2 separate regions of the Homo sapiens genome follow, and region 2 is linked to region 1. Evidence: promoter capture Hi-C in 16 types of primary human blood cells and fetal thymus (Javierre and others, 2016). All regions are on one chromosome and are shown on one strand. The core of a region is centred on a gene start or on the middle of the fragment in contact, and the rest is flanking DNA. Distances in the headings are between cores, read along the strand shown.

Evidence for each region. The method cuts DNA at HindIII sites, captures the fragments that hold promoters and counts their contacts. A CHiCAGO score of 5 or more calls a contact.
Region 2: the fragment with the promoter of CTBS here is called in contact with the fragment with the promoter of SH3GLB1 in region 1 in 1 of 17 cell types (activated CD4 T cells); the score reaches 5.2 in activated CD4 T cells.

Annotation. Positions count from the first base shown.
Region 1 is chr1:86,703,326-86,710,382 of GRCh38, forward strand. It overlaps SH3GLB1 (SH3 domain containing GRB2 like, endophilin B1), which reads left to right and starts at 1,251. Exons shown (of 9, transcript NM_016009.5): 1 at 1,251-1,646. The coding sequence starts at 1,575. CLCA4-AS1 (CLCA4 antisense RNA 1) reads right to left here and starts at 1,168. Exons shown (of 5, transcript NR_135837.1): 1 at 282-1,168. RefSeq lists enhancers at 455-524, 1,089-1,590 and a silencer at 1,415-1,904. The HindIII fragment of the contact is 3,313 bases long and covers 437-3,749 here.
Region 2 is chr1:84,572,801-84,579,971 of GRCh38, forward strand. It overlaps CTBS (chitobiase), which reads right to left and starts at 1,640. Exons shown (of 7, transcript NM_004388.3): 1 at 1,439-1,640. The coding sequence starts at 1,615. It overlaps LOC105378819 (a long non-coding RNA gene), which reads left to right and starts at 5,216. Exons shown (of 2, transcript XR_947544.4): 1 at 5,216-5,335. RefSeq lists enhancers at 230-279, 993-1,092, 1,203-1,492 and silencers at 1,653-1,772, 5,546-5,745. The HindIII fragment of the contact is 3,172 bases long and covers 355-3,526 here.

The DNA.
Region 1 (7,057 bases), core at 1-2,500:
ATTCAGGGACACCACTGTGTCCACCATTAAAGAATTTCCCCTTTAATGGTGGACACGGTGGTGTGATCCTTTTGTAGAGACGAGCATAGGTTATGGCAAATATACCTACTTTAAAAACAGTGCTCTGGGAAGAGAGTAAGTGCTTTTCCACATAAAGATCTAAAATAGACAATAAATGAGAAATAGGGTTTTTTATTATATATTCATTTTTCCATATTTCTGGAAAATGAAACAGACATGGAGTATTTCAAAGCTGGGAGAGATCATTATATTGGAGTTACCTTAGAAAGAGGGGGCTGTTTCTGCCACCACAACAAAGAATGAAACAACACAAATATTTACGTTTTCTTCTTGTCCTCATAATGCTTTTACTGCACTCGTCTTTCAACCTTTAACATCTACTGCATCTGTGACTGTTGTTTCAGTAAAACACGGAAGCTTGAATGTAAGCTCATTTCATTGCCTGCTGCACAACCACACAAAACAGCATTTTCTTATTCTTGAAATATGATAGCAACGTCTCCTTCCATGCTTGTACCTGTTTTAATTCCTTTCAAGCAGAGGCTGTATCGTGAAAGATGCTTAAGAAGTTACTTGGAACGACAGGATTTGGAACGGATGTCACATCATATTCTCATTTGTTATTAAAATTAGTCACGCTTAATTGTTAAGGACTATCCTGTGTCGCTCGCCATCTTTGTGTCCTCCACCTGGCACTTTGCTTTCACACAGTAGGCACATAGCGTTGAGGTCCCGGAAGGTTGTCAAGTAACCGGCCAGGAGCTTGAGGGCAGGACATTGTCTCCGACACTTGATTCAGTGCCTGGCACACAGGAGGTATTCAATTATGCTGAATGAATGAGCAACCGGCTCGGTGGGGGACAGTAAACCCAACCCTATTCCGCGAACGTTTGCTGAGCGGCATCCAGGCCTCAGGGACCAAGTGTGTCGCGCGGTGCCATACCGTGACCGGGACCTGTTATTTCTAATGTCCAGATATTGTAATTCTATGCTGTAACTCCTATATTTCCTCTTAAAACAAAAAGAGAAATGTGGGTCGTGTTCGCTCTGGGTTCTCGTTAAGTGCAAGCATACAGAGGCGCCGAGACCCCGCGGCTCGCCCTCGCCGCTTCCTCCACAGGAGCCGGGCGGAGCTCCCGGCGCGCCCCGGGGCTGCGCCGCCGCAATCCTCAAGGGGTCGCTGTTCCCGCGATAACCTCGAGAAAGGCTCCGCCCCGCGGCCCGCGCTTGTTTTTCCCTTGGGACCCGGGTCCACACGGCGGGGTCGCCCGTCCATCTCCGGCTCGCCCGCGGGGCCCATCGTCGACGTTAGCGGCCGTTCTCCGAGCCGACTGACCCATCCTTGGCGCTGCCGCCGCGCGCTTGTTCTCCTCCCTCGCCCCGCCTTCATCCTCCCCGTTCACGGAAACGACAGCTGCGGCTGCGGGGCTGGCGCCGCCTCCCTCCACCTACCACGTCTGCCCTCGCCGCTCTAGCCCTGCGCCCCAGCCCGGCCGCGGCACCTCCGCCTCGCCGCCGCTAGGTCGGCCGGCTCCGCCCGGCTGCCGCCTAGGATGAATATCATGGACTTCAACGTGAAGAAGCTGGCGGCCGACGCAGGCACCTTCCTCAGTCGCGCCGTGCAGGTACCCTGGTGCTGGGGGGAAAAGGGGTGGCGGCGCCCGGGAAGGTTGAGGGAGGGGACCGCAGCTCGACGCGGCGCCCCCGGGCCTCGCCGACCACCCAGCGGGCCTGCTGCAGCCAGAGGCCTGGGAGATGGGCGCGGCCTGGTCCCCTCCCCGGGCCCGGCGGCGGATTTCTGCCCCGCTCCTGCCCAACCGCCGCTCCCTGGGAAGCGAGGCGGGGTGGGGACGGGGCCGGGAGCTTCCTCCCACCCCTGGGGAACACTAAGGCTGCACTGTCCGCCTTTCTGATACCACGACGTCAGTGCTCCTGTGGCCTCCACCCCGGGGCTGGCGGAGGCTTGCGAGTCCTTTGCGGTAACCGAGACACAGGCCATTCTTGCACTACCCCCCACCCTTTCCTTTCGTCTCTCACCCTCCCCTCGGAGTCCAAGAAGGGAGTTTCCTTTTCCTGTCCTTCAACCCAGAGAGCTGCCAACACAGTTCCCTCCGGCCCTCTTTCTCCCTGAAAGGACTGTCCTGGGCTTGGCAGCCCGCGGGGGAAATGGAGATCGCCAGTTGGCGTTGAGACTTTGCCAAGACCACAAGAAACCTAGGGTTGGGGGGTTTTCACTCTTTTTCAAAATGGGAAGCACCAGCTGTAGATCAAGGAGAGATGCGGGGATATTGTTATGGCTGTAGTCACAGTAGTATGTTTTAAATATACTTTAAGGGGAAAAGTTGACTACCTCTCGATATTCTACAATCAAGGAAGTGTCAGTACTAAGGAACTTGGGCCGTTTCCCACAGTCATCACCCATGTTATGCCAACTCAGTAAATCTGTGAACAGATGTAAATTTCACAACATGAATTATAAACAATCTGGTGTTTACGGTCACGGTAGCAACAACATTCTCTTTTGTAAAAAGAAAACAAAAATAATTTTCTAATATGCATACCAAATTGGTGCTGAAATGTAAATCTGTTCTGTGGCTTTACTACTTTCCTTGCCTTTGCCCCAATTTTGTTGGCACAGTTGATCCTACATTGCACTATCCCTGGCAAAAGAGTAGTAGAGCTAGAGCAAGGTAATAGCTGCCTATATTATGAAAAACCTGTCAAGCACTTTGTAATGCATTTGACATATTATCTCCAGTCTTTTCCATAACTTTGCCAGATAGATGTTATTAACCCCTTTTATATATGTGAGGAAGCAGCCTTACTGAGGTTAAGAAACTTGCACAACTAGTAAATAACCAGGTGCTGTCTGACCTAGTACTCCCAGCTGCTTTTTCTTCCGGGATAAGCATTCCAGATTTAAGATAGCTAGAATAATAGAATGCTGTGGCCTAGAGAGACCTTAAAAATCATCTGGTTCAATCTGAGCATTTCCATATCAACAAGCAAGTAACACTTTAGAGATGGTAAATTCCTTCTAGCTTTTGATTTCTAAGTTCTAAAATCTGCATGGTGAGTAATAAGCTAGCTGCCTTAACCCTTTTCTTCCCTTCCTTCCCTAAAATATGATATATTGTAGACGTTGAGCCTTTATAGTTAAAATAATGTTTTGATTTAAATTCACTAGCTTCTAATAGTTCAAAGACAAGGTGCAAGAAGAATGAGTGATTGAGGGTGTGAAATGAATTTTGATGTGTGAGACACTTGTACACTTTTAACATTGACTGCAATAGAGGACTAGAGCCCTTGGTATTTTTGTTTGTCCTAGTGCTCATTACCTATAATTCTAGATGCTTATGAGGATTTGACACTGTATAATGCTACTCTTTTAAATACAGTTAAATATGTTTCAGACGTATAACTCACACCCCTTAAAGAGGACACATTTACTAGAATTTAGTCTGATTTAAATTGTGGATAGACTCAATTTAAAAAATTAAATCTAGCAAAGCTCTCAAAATGTGTACTTCCCAAAGAATTTTAATTCCTTGTTTCAAATTCTTTAGGAAAAAGTTTTAAATTTTATGCTAATCTGTTAGCCATCAAATAATTTTCTTTTCAGTTTTAAATATTTAAGTGTCTACTGCATGTCTGATGTCTGCTTGTGGCTACTGTGGACACTGGTGATACAGCAGTGAATAAAATCAGCAAAGTGTCTGCCCTCCTGAAGCTTACATTGTAGCGGAAGATAAGCTTGTAAATACATCAGGTGGTGATAAAAATCATGGCCAGAAGAATAGAATAACGCAGAGATGGTGGTTGTTAATATCTTTATTAGTATTTTCTAACATTAGTATCGTGTATAGATAGGATGGTCAGGGCAAGTCTTTCTAATAGGATGAAATTCAAGAGACCTCAAGGAAGTGACAGACCTAGTTTTTTTTGGAATAAAAGTATTTCAGGCAGCAGGAAGAAGTACAAAGACTGAAGTTTCAGGGGCATTAAGGAGACCAATGAAGGAGCTGTGGCCATAATACACGTAAAAGGCGATTGTAACTTAGATTACAGTGGTAGCAGTGAAGGTTCCAAATTATCCAGTATTGGCTGTTGGATTGGCTGTGAGGTATGAGAGAAAGATGAGTTAAGGATGACTCCAAGGTTTTGGCTTGAGCCGTTTATTAAGGGAAAAATTTTAGGAGAAACAGACTTCTTTAATGTGTCTGTAATTGTTAGAGATACATACTGAAATGTTTATGGATAAACTTATATCATATCTGAGATTTGGTTTTTACAGGGTATTTTTTTTTTTTTTTTTTTTTGAGATGGAGTTTGGCTCTTGTTGCCCAGGCTGGAGTGCAATGGCGCGATCTCAGCTCATTGCAACCTTCGCCTCCCCGATTCAAGCCAATCTCCTGCCTCCGTCTTTCAAGTAACTGGAATTACAGGCAGGCTCCACCACGCCCAGCTAATTTTGCATTTTTAGTAGAGATGGGGTTTCACCATGTTGGTCAGGCTGGTCTTGAACTCCTGACCTCAGGATCCACCTGCTTCGGCCTCCCAAAGTGCTGGGATTACAGGTGTGAGCCACCACACCAGTTGAGATTAGCGTTTGAATATTTCAAAAGAAAAAAACAGAAGTCGCTGAAACAACAGCAACGGAATGTTGATAGTTGTGGAAGGTTGGTTATGGGTTCATGAGGTTTCATTATACTGTTATACTTTTGTATGTTTGACATTTTCCATAATACTTTTTTAAAGATAAAATTTGTAAGAAAAAAAGGATGCTTCTAAAATAGAACATGTGAAATTTGGAATGCTGTGTGGTAGTTTTCAACAAAACACTGCTTTCTCATCTCAGTATTTATTTCATCACTGAGTTCCTACATTAAATTGCATTGACATCAGTATAATGCCAAAGTACCAAGTTTCATGCTAAGAATAGCTTAAGAGCTATGCCAATATCTCTTTATAAGCAGTAAGAACAGTAGAGAGAGAAACATTCACGTTTATAAATAATAATTTTCATTCAAATCAAATTGTACCGTAAGGAATATGCCATTCTTTGGTTGGCCAACGCCATACATTGTTTTCCATTTTACTTAAAAATTTCTAAGTTAAAAATTAAACATGTTTCTTGTTTTAAAAAAAGGTCAGCTCAAACTAGTAAAGCACATAGATGCGTCCCATCACCACTCCACTTCCCTCCTTTTAAAATTTGTTTATAAGCCTTGGTACTTTAAAAAGAATGTTAGACTAGAATGTATAAATGAGTAGGAATGTTTATTCTTAACTAGCCCATTTGGGTGCTTGTTTTTAAGTACCTCAAGATGGTAAAATACAAAAGTATCAGGTAATTCACCCTTGCTTAATTGTTATTTTACTAGAGTTTTAAATGCCATTTATTCTTAGAATCCATCTTTTTAGTCCAAACTTCTTAGTTGAGCATTAAATACTCCCTTACAATCTGGTCCTTTCTCTCACTTATATAAACACTGTATTCCAAATTATTTTTTAATTTCCAAAATATCTTCTACTTATTTTAGGCTTTTGTTCATATGGTTAGACTCCTCTTAAGTGTCCTGTCTGCCTATTCTTTCCTTTCCTTAAGATACAACTTTATTCATCTCCAAAATGGAGAGAGTAAAAAAAATTTTAAAATAAAAGTAAAATAAACTTTTTTTAAAGATATAGCTTCAAATCCATCTCAGCTGATAAGGCTTCTTAGACCACAAGAGCTTGCTGTGAAATCGTGAATCATTTTCAATTCCAAATGATGAGGTGGCACTTTTCTTCTAATGAACTGTTATGTTAGATCTCTTGGAACTCTAAAGTTCTGTTACTCTGACTTTCTTTAATAAGTTTGTATGTGCTAAGGCATCAACTCTGTTTCTTATTCCCCTCTTACAACATCTAACATGGTTCATCTTTTATATCATTTTAGCCAGGCAAATTACCATCCATATGTGAAGTTTAATCTTTGAAGGGCAACAATAAGCATGTTAAATAACAGTATCTTTATTAGTATTTTCTAACATTGTTTGCGGACCTTGAAGTTAACTAATACCAGTATAAATTGAGTACCTCCTAGGTGCTTGGCGTTGAAAGATACAAAGCTGAATGAGACCCTGTTCCTGCCCTCAGAGACTTCATAATAATAGTCTCAAACTTGTCATAAATCTTATTTGTACTAAATAGCCATTTTGTGAATAACTTTATTTGATAAATCTTTCAAGTGGATAAAGGAACAAGAGATGTGTTTTTAACTCAGAATTCTTATTGAAGCAAAACCTTGCTCACCATCATTAAAATAAGAGCAAAGACTTTCTAAAAAGAATTTTTCAAATCAAATTACTTAGGGAGGGAGTTCATTTTAATTTTCTAACATTTCCTCTAAACTGATTATTAAAGTCATACTATGAAATTCGTGAACACCAGCTATTTTCTAAGGAATATAGTTCTTAAAATATAGTTTTGAGCTTGGCCTTGATCTCCCATTTATTTCAGCAAGTGTCATGGTGTGTCTAAGGATGTAAAGATGAATATGATGTTGCCGTTCAATAGCTCCTGTCAGACCCTCCCTGGAGTTTCAGTTTGGCCAAACAACTCTCTCAAGCACTTCTGAAATCCTATTTCTTTTACAGAATTCACACCGTGACAACTTCACCATGTTTCTTAAATTCTAATAAATAAAATATGTCACATTCGAAATCCATACATTTTCTTGTTATATAAAAACTCTACATGTTTAGTGTTACTTAAAACTGTTTTCACATCCTTTGGTGCTATTTGCATTACTTTAGTAAAATAGATAGAAGATAGTTTGTTAACCTGATGTTAAAATTTACACTTATGTACTACATGAGTAAGGTAATTAGAAAATCTATAAAACTCTTTTAAATTCATCATATTTCTTGAAAGAATTTTTTTTTTTTTTTTGAGACGGAGTCTCGCCCTGTTGCCCAGGCTGGAGTGCAGTGGCACGATCTTGGCTCACCGCAATCTCCGTTTCCCAGGTTCAAGCTATCCTCCTTCCTCA
Region 2 (7,171 bases), core at 390-2,889, 2.1 Mb before region 1:
CCCAAGTAGTTCGGATTACATGTGCCCGCCACCACGCCCAGCTAATTTTTGTATTTTTAGTAGAGACGGGGTTTCACCATGTTGGCCAGGCTGTTCTCGAATTCCTGACCTCAAGTGATCCACCCACCTTGGCCTCACAAAGTGCTTCTCAATCTCAAAAAGAGATTGAGAAAATTAAGAAATGTCTGGTTGAACTTTTACAGCTACTGTCCCCACTGCCTCTACCACCGCGCTGGGCCTCAGATTGTATAAAACATTTTAATTGGGAGGCCATTATGCTGAAACAGCTCCAACTGCCTTGGATTTCCTGCTTAAGCAAACTCCAGCCCAAGGTCAACAGTGAAAGGAAACTTAAGCTTAACCTATCAGAAACTGCCAACTAACCTCTAACTAGTAATTTTCCACCAAGTCATAGCTAAATAAGGCAAACAGTCATAGCCAACCAAGTAATTATTTTCCTTTGCTTCCCTGTTCGGCCTATAAAAGCCCATGCTACTAAAGCAGACCTCTCTGAACCCCTTCTGGTTTAAGTACTGCCGATTCATAAGTTGTTCTTTGCTCAAATAAAAAAGGTTATCCTACTTTGTCTGAAGTCTTTCTTTTAATAAGATGTTAGGTTTCCACACTAGGCAGGTTCTCCATAAACACTTTCACCATTTTTATTTCTTCTCCTAAGTCATGTATATATACTTTTTTACTGGCATCTAAGTGTTCTGCCTCAGATTAATGTACTAGATTAAGAACTAGGAATCATGCCTATTTCTACAAAAGAATCGTTCTTTGAATTAAGCCTTTGGACCTTCCTGATGTCATCCAATTCCTGCTTTCAGTCATCGAAGTGGGCAGTCAGGTGGTTTTAATATTGCTCCAGAAGGTGTTTGATTAAAGTTGCCAGAAGCCTTACAAATTGTTATGTAGATAGAAGGAAAATGTACTGAAAGCTATTTTTTTTACCACTCTTCATGGGTGGTTTTGAGGTACTTTAAAGGAAAGGGCTAGCAGGTATAGAAAACTAAAGGTAAGCAAAATACTCTGCATTCTAATGTACTGTTGGAGTGCTGAGATTCTTTCAAACGAAATCCTCGTTCCTTGGAAACATAAATGGATTATCCTACCTTGTTTGCTTTTTACACCCAGAGTGCTTCCGCAGAGGCACAGCAGGGGAATGAAAGGAGCTTGCCTTAGGAGGCAGATCTGGTTTGAACTCTCGCCTGCCTACGCAGGCACTTACAGGCTGTGAGGCCTGAGGAGTTACTCAACTTCTCTGAGCCCGAGCTTCCTCATCTATAAATTGAAGGATCCGTAAACAGGAAGGCCCTCATCGAGTGGTCAAAGCTGGTTTCGGCGCCCACGGCACCTCTCCTTAGGGCTCCGTTCTACCCTAACTTCTCTTCGTGCCCTGAAGCCCAGACCTAGAGGAGCAGAGGAAGGCGCTGACCTCGAAATCTGGATGGTGGCGAATCGGGCGGCAGAGCTCAGGCTCCGGGCATGGGCAGTCGGTCCCGGCCGCGAGCCGCAGCGCCAGCAGCGCCAGCAGCGCCAGCAGCGCTAGACCCGGGACGCCGCTCGGCGGGCTAGAGACGAGGCGCCAGCGTCGAAGCTGCGGCCGGGACATAGCAGCAGGTCTAGCGGGCCGGAGTGGGTTCCTACCGCCTGGGTGGGCGGGGCCTGCTGCGCGTCGGGGCAGGAAGGGGCGGGGAGAGTCGGGAAGGGCGGGGAGGGGCGGGAGGGGCGGGGCTCCGGGGCGGGCGTGGGAGGTCGGGCTTCGAGCGTCCCCGGGCGCTACAGGTGGGTGAAGTTAAGTGGCTGCTGGAGCGTCTCGGGGGACAGCCAGTGTCTGCGGCGCCGAGAGGGCCGTTCGTGGACTCAAATGGGTATCACCCCTACCGTTTATAGTCCTCCCAATAGTCTGCATCTCGTTTTGTCGTGGCTGGTCGTGTACTCCTTGTGGAGTCTGAAGGTACAAGGGGATCCCCAAAATGGAGAAGTGGGTGTCTTTGGAAGGGCCTACTGAGTAACATGGTTGGAGTGGCCAAAAGACTTTGTTTTTCTTTTGCTACTCAAAAGAAAGCTGGAATACCAAAAATTTTTACTTACGGATATCAGGTCTTAGTTAAGATCGTGGTTTGAATTCAAGCATCTAATTTTGCCTACTCTCCTGTTAAAAATCAAGTTTAACAACCTAAACACAAGGACAAAGAGATAACAGCAACAAAATGTTGGAAGCTGGAGAGCACAAGTATGAGTATGAGAGGTAAATCGGAAAAGGGGGAGATTAGTCAAAGGCTGCTCAAGGACTCTGATCGCTAGATCCTTTTTCCAGCTTCATGTCTCTGGGCAGCTGCCCCTCTTTCCCACCACGGGCTCCCACCCCGGCTGAATTCCCTGAAGGGGATAAATTCTCTGCTGAGTGGGTATTCCACCTAAAACGGAGAATAAGTGGCTTTATGCCTACTGAAAACTGAAACCCCTCGCTATCTGATTAACCTAAGAGGCTGAGCAAAGATACTGACATCGGGTTTTCTGGACAAATCATACACCCAGATCACCCTACAGTGAAATTCAAAGTTAAAAGCACCAGCTATCTACTTGGAGCTTCCTCTCTTTGTACTTTTTAATTTTTACTTTTAATCATGGACAGCAACCAAAAAAATCCAATAATGTAGAAAGAAGGGACCCAAACAACAGACAAAGGAATATGGAGGAAGCAGATGCTGCAGGGAGAACACTTTTAAAAATTCTCATAATAGCCCCAGAAAAATAAGAGAAGATGAAGCCACAACAGGGTGCAATAAAAGGGGTAGGGGATTTTTAAAAGTTAATAGAAATAAGAAAGAAGTGAAAAAACTATTAGTAGAAGATAACACTGAGGAATGTAGAGCAAAAACTCTGAAAGATAAGAAAATTGGAAAACGCAGTACAGAGGGGATGAAATAAATAATTCTTAAAGGTGCTTGAGAAGCAGCGTAGTACAAATAAGAAGAAATAAGTAATTTGGGCTGGGCACAGTGGTTCATGCTTGTAATCCCGGCACTGTGGGAGGCCGAGGTGGGCAGATCACTTGAGCTCAGGAGTTTGAGACCAGCCTGGCCAACATTGTGAAACCCCATCTCTACTAAAAATACAAAAATTATCTGGGCATGGTGGCAGACACCTGTAATCCCAGCTACTCGGAAGGCTGAGGCAGGAGAATCGCTTGAACCTGGGAGGTGGAGGTTGCAGAGATCACACCACTGCACTCCAGCCTCAGCAACAGAGTGAGACTCTGTCTCCAAAAAAAAAAAAAAAAAAGAAAAGAAAAGAAATAAGTAATTATCAAGGCTCCAGGACTGAAGAACACGCGTTTTCAGAATGAAAAGCTAGGCCAGGCACTGTGGCTCACACCTGCAATTGCATAACTTTGGCAGGCCAAGGCAGGAGGATTACTTGAGGGCAGGAGTTTGAGACCAGCCTGGGGAACATAGACCCTGTCTCTACAAAAAATAAAAAGCAAAAAATTAGCCCTGTGTGCCAGTGCGGTGGTAAAAGCTTGTAGTCCCAGCTGCTCGGGAGGCTGAGATGAGAGGATTGCTTGAAGCCGGGAGGTTGAGGCTGAAGTGAACTATGATCATGCCACTGCACTCCAGCCTGGGTGACAAAACAAGATCCTGTCTCAAAAAAAAAAAAAGTACAATTGAACCTCCATAACCAGAGGTTCCACATCCATGGTTTTAACCAATGTCAGATAACAGTATTTAAAAATAACAAATAATACAGCAATTTAAAAATGCAAATAAAAATACGGCAAGAGCACTGTCAACATAGCATTACATCGTATTATTATAATTAATCTAGAGATTATTTGAAGTACAGGAGGATGTGCATAGATTATGCCATTTTATATAAGGGACTTGAGCATCCATGGATTTTGGTATCTGGGAGTCCTGGAACCAATCCCTCATGATACTGAAATGTAACTATGTTTTTAACATGAATGGTTGCACTGAATCAAGTTTTCAAGGAAAAGAGCCTTCTGACTCATAGAATCAGACTGTATTCTGTGACACAGAAGAAAACACATATCTACCTGTGTTAGGGATCCCTAAGATCACCTCCAGGTTCAGTGATGCACTAAAAGAACTCATAGGACTCAGTTGTACTCACAGTTAAGATTTATTACAGCAGAAGAATATGAAGCAAAAGAGCAAAGGGAAAAAGTGCACAGGAAGAAGACAGGAGGAGGCCAAGCACAAGCATCACGTTGTAACATGTGTGAAGGGCTGTCTGCCATGGAAGCTCATTAGAGACTCAGGGAACAGCAGGAACACTCCCAAATCCACCTACAGGCCAACCTTCAGGAAGCAGGCCTTTCTAAAGATCGCAGTCTTAGGCCTGTTACGGTAACTCTTTTCTGCATACTAACCAAATGAGGAATTCCTACATATTTGTATTGAATTTTATATTGGTGCTGTACATTCTATGGGCTTTGACAAATGTATAATGATGTGTATCCAGCATTATAGTATCATACAGAATAGTTTCACTGCCCTCAAAATTATCTGTGCTCTACCTATTCATTCCTCTCTCCTTGCTAACCACTGGCATCCACAGATTTTTACACTGTCTCCATAGTTTTGCCTTTTCCAGAATGTCACATAGTTGGAATCTTACAGTATATAGCTTTTCAGATTGGCTTCCTTCACTTAGTAATACGCATTTATGGTTCCTCCATGTCCCTTCATGGCTTGATTGCTCATTTCTTTTTAGCACTGAATAATACTTCATTGTTGGGACGTACTACAGTTAATCCAATCCTGCAGCATCTGCTTCCTCCATATTCCTTTGTCTGTTGTTTGGGTCCCTTCCTTCTACATTATTGGATTTTCTTGGTTGCTGTCCATGATTAAAAGTAAAAATTAAAAAGTACAAAGAGAGGAAGCTCCAAGTAGATAGCTGGTGCTTTTAACTTTGAATTTCACTGTAGGGTGATCTGGGTGTATGATTTGTCCAGAAAACCACTGATGTATCTATTCACCTACTGAATGGATTTTGTGTTATCACTTTTTTGAATTTCACTGTAGGGTGATCTGGGTGTATGATTTGTCCAGAAAAACCCCTGATGTCAATATCCATTCACCTACTGAAGGACATCTTGGTTGCTTTCAAGTTTTGAAAATTATGAATAAAGCTGCTATAAACATTCATGTGCAAGTTTTGTGTTATCACTTTTTTTTTCCAGACAGGGTCTCTGTCACCCAGGCTAGAGTGCAGTGACTTGATCAAGCTCACAGCAGCCTCCATCTCCTGGGGTCCAGCAATCCTCGCACCTCAGCCTCCTGAGTAGCTAGGACTACAGGTACATGCCATCATGCCTGGCTTTTATGTATTTATTTATTTATTTTAGTAGAGGTGAGGTTTTGCTATGTTGCTCAGGCTGGTCTGGAACTCCTGTGCTCAAGGAGTCCTTCTGTCTTGGCCTTCCAATGTTCTGGAATTACAGGCATGAGCCACTGCGTCCAACCCTGTGTTATAACATTTTTAAGCCAAGGAGAAATGTTTGTTTTTGACAACTTAACCATATCTAATTAAATGTTTTATTAAAACCATTCACGTGGGCCGGGTGTGGTGGCTCACACCTGTAATCCCAGCACTTTGGGAGGCAGAGGCGGGTGGATCACAAGGTCAGGAGTTCGTGACCAGCCTGGCCAATATGGGGAAACCCCGTCTCTACTAAAAATACAAAAATTAGCTGGGTGTGGTGGTGCATGCCTGTAATCCCAGCTGCTTGGGAGGCTGATGCAGGAGAATTGCTTGAACCCGGGAGGCAGAGGTTGCTGTGAGCCCAGATCGTGCCACTGCACTCCAGCCTGAGTGACAAAGTGAGACTCTGTCAAAAAAAAAAAAAAAAATTCACAATTCTAACACTGTACGTCCATCTAGTTGATCCATTGATTCATGGTAGCATGCCATAGAGCAAATAACAAATATACAATAGCTACATAAAATATAAAAAATTTAGGAATAAATATAATGTGCAAGAATGTAAGACCTCTACATAGAAAAGTATATATTTAATAAAGTATAAAACATTATTGAAATGTTAGAAGATGTAAGCAAATAAAACATGAAATATTTGTTGGGGGAGGAGGATTGTTGTTTTGTTTCATTTTTCTTTTTTCTGTTTAGTTTTGGTGGAATTTGATAAGCTGATTCTAAAATATATAAGAAAATATAAAAATAGTTGTGACATTGCTCAAGAACAAGGTGGGAAGTCTTCTACATATTCTCAAGACTTAAAAAGATTAAGTAATAAATTCCACTCACTATTGGTGCAAGCATAAACAAATGAACCAATGGCACAGAGTTGAGAACTCACAAAAGATCCATGTGTATACACTTGATTAATGACAAAGGAATCACTGCAGAGCAGCAGAAAAAAGATAATGTTGTGACAACTGGATATTAATATGGAAAAAACCTGAAACTTGACCTCTACCTCACACCATATACAAACAACTCTAGGTGATTTCTAGACTTAAATGTAAAAGGCAAAACAACAAAGTTATCAGAAAATAATATAGAGAATATTTCATGATCTCTAGAGAATAAACCCTTACATGAAGCCCGAAAAGTATTAACTACAAAGGGAAAAAATCAATACATTTGGCTACTCAATATTTAAGAACTGTTTATCAAAAAACACAAGAGAGTAAAAAGCCACAGTATGGAACAAGGTATTATTTGTAAAATATATAACCAACAATGGACTGGTGTGAAGAATATATAAAGAACTCATATAAATTCAAAGAAAAAAGTAATCTAGAGGAAAATGGCTAGGAAATCAGAACACTTTACAAAAGAGGATATCTGTATGTTCAATAAACATATGAAAAGATGCTTAATCTTGGTAACCAGGGAAATGTGAACTAAAACCACAATTAGATACCACTACATACTCATTGGAATGGCTAAAATTAAAAAGACTGGTAATACCAGCTATTGACAAGGATGTGAAACAACAGAAACTTTATACATGGCTGATGGTAGAGTATAAAATAATCATTTTGAAAAATAGTTTGGCATTATTTACTGAACTTTAAGATACACATCCTCTACGAACCAGCAGCTCTGCTTCATGGAAATGAATGAATGTATGTGCTCCACATAGAAACATGGTATCCCTTAAATGCAG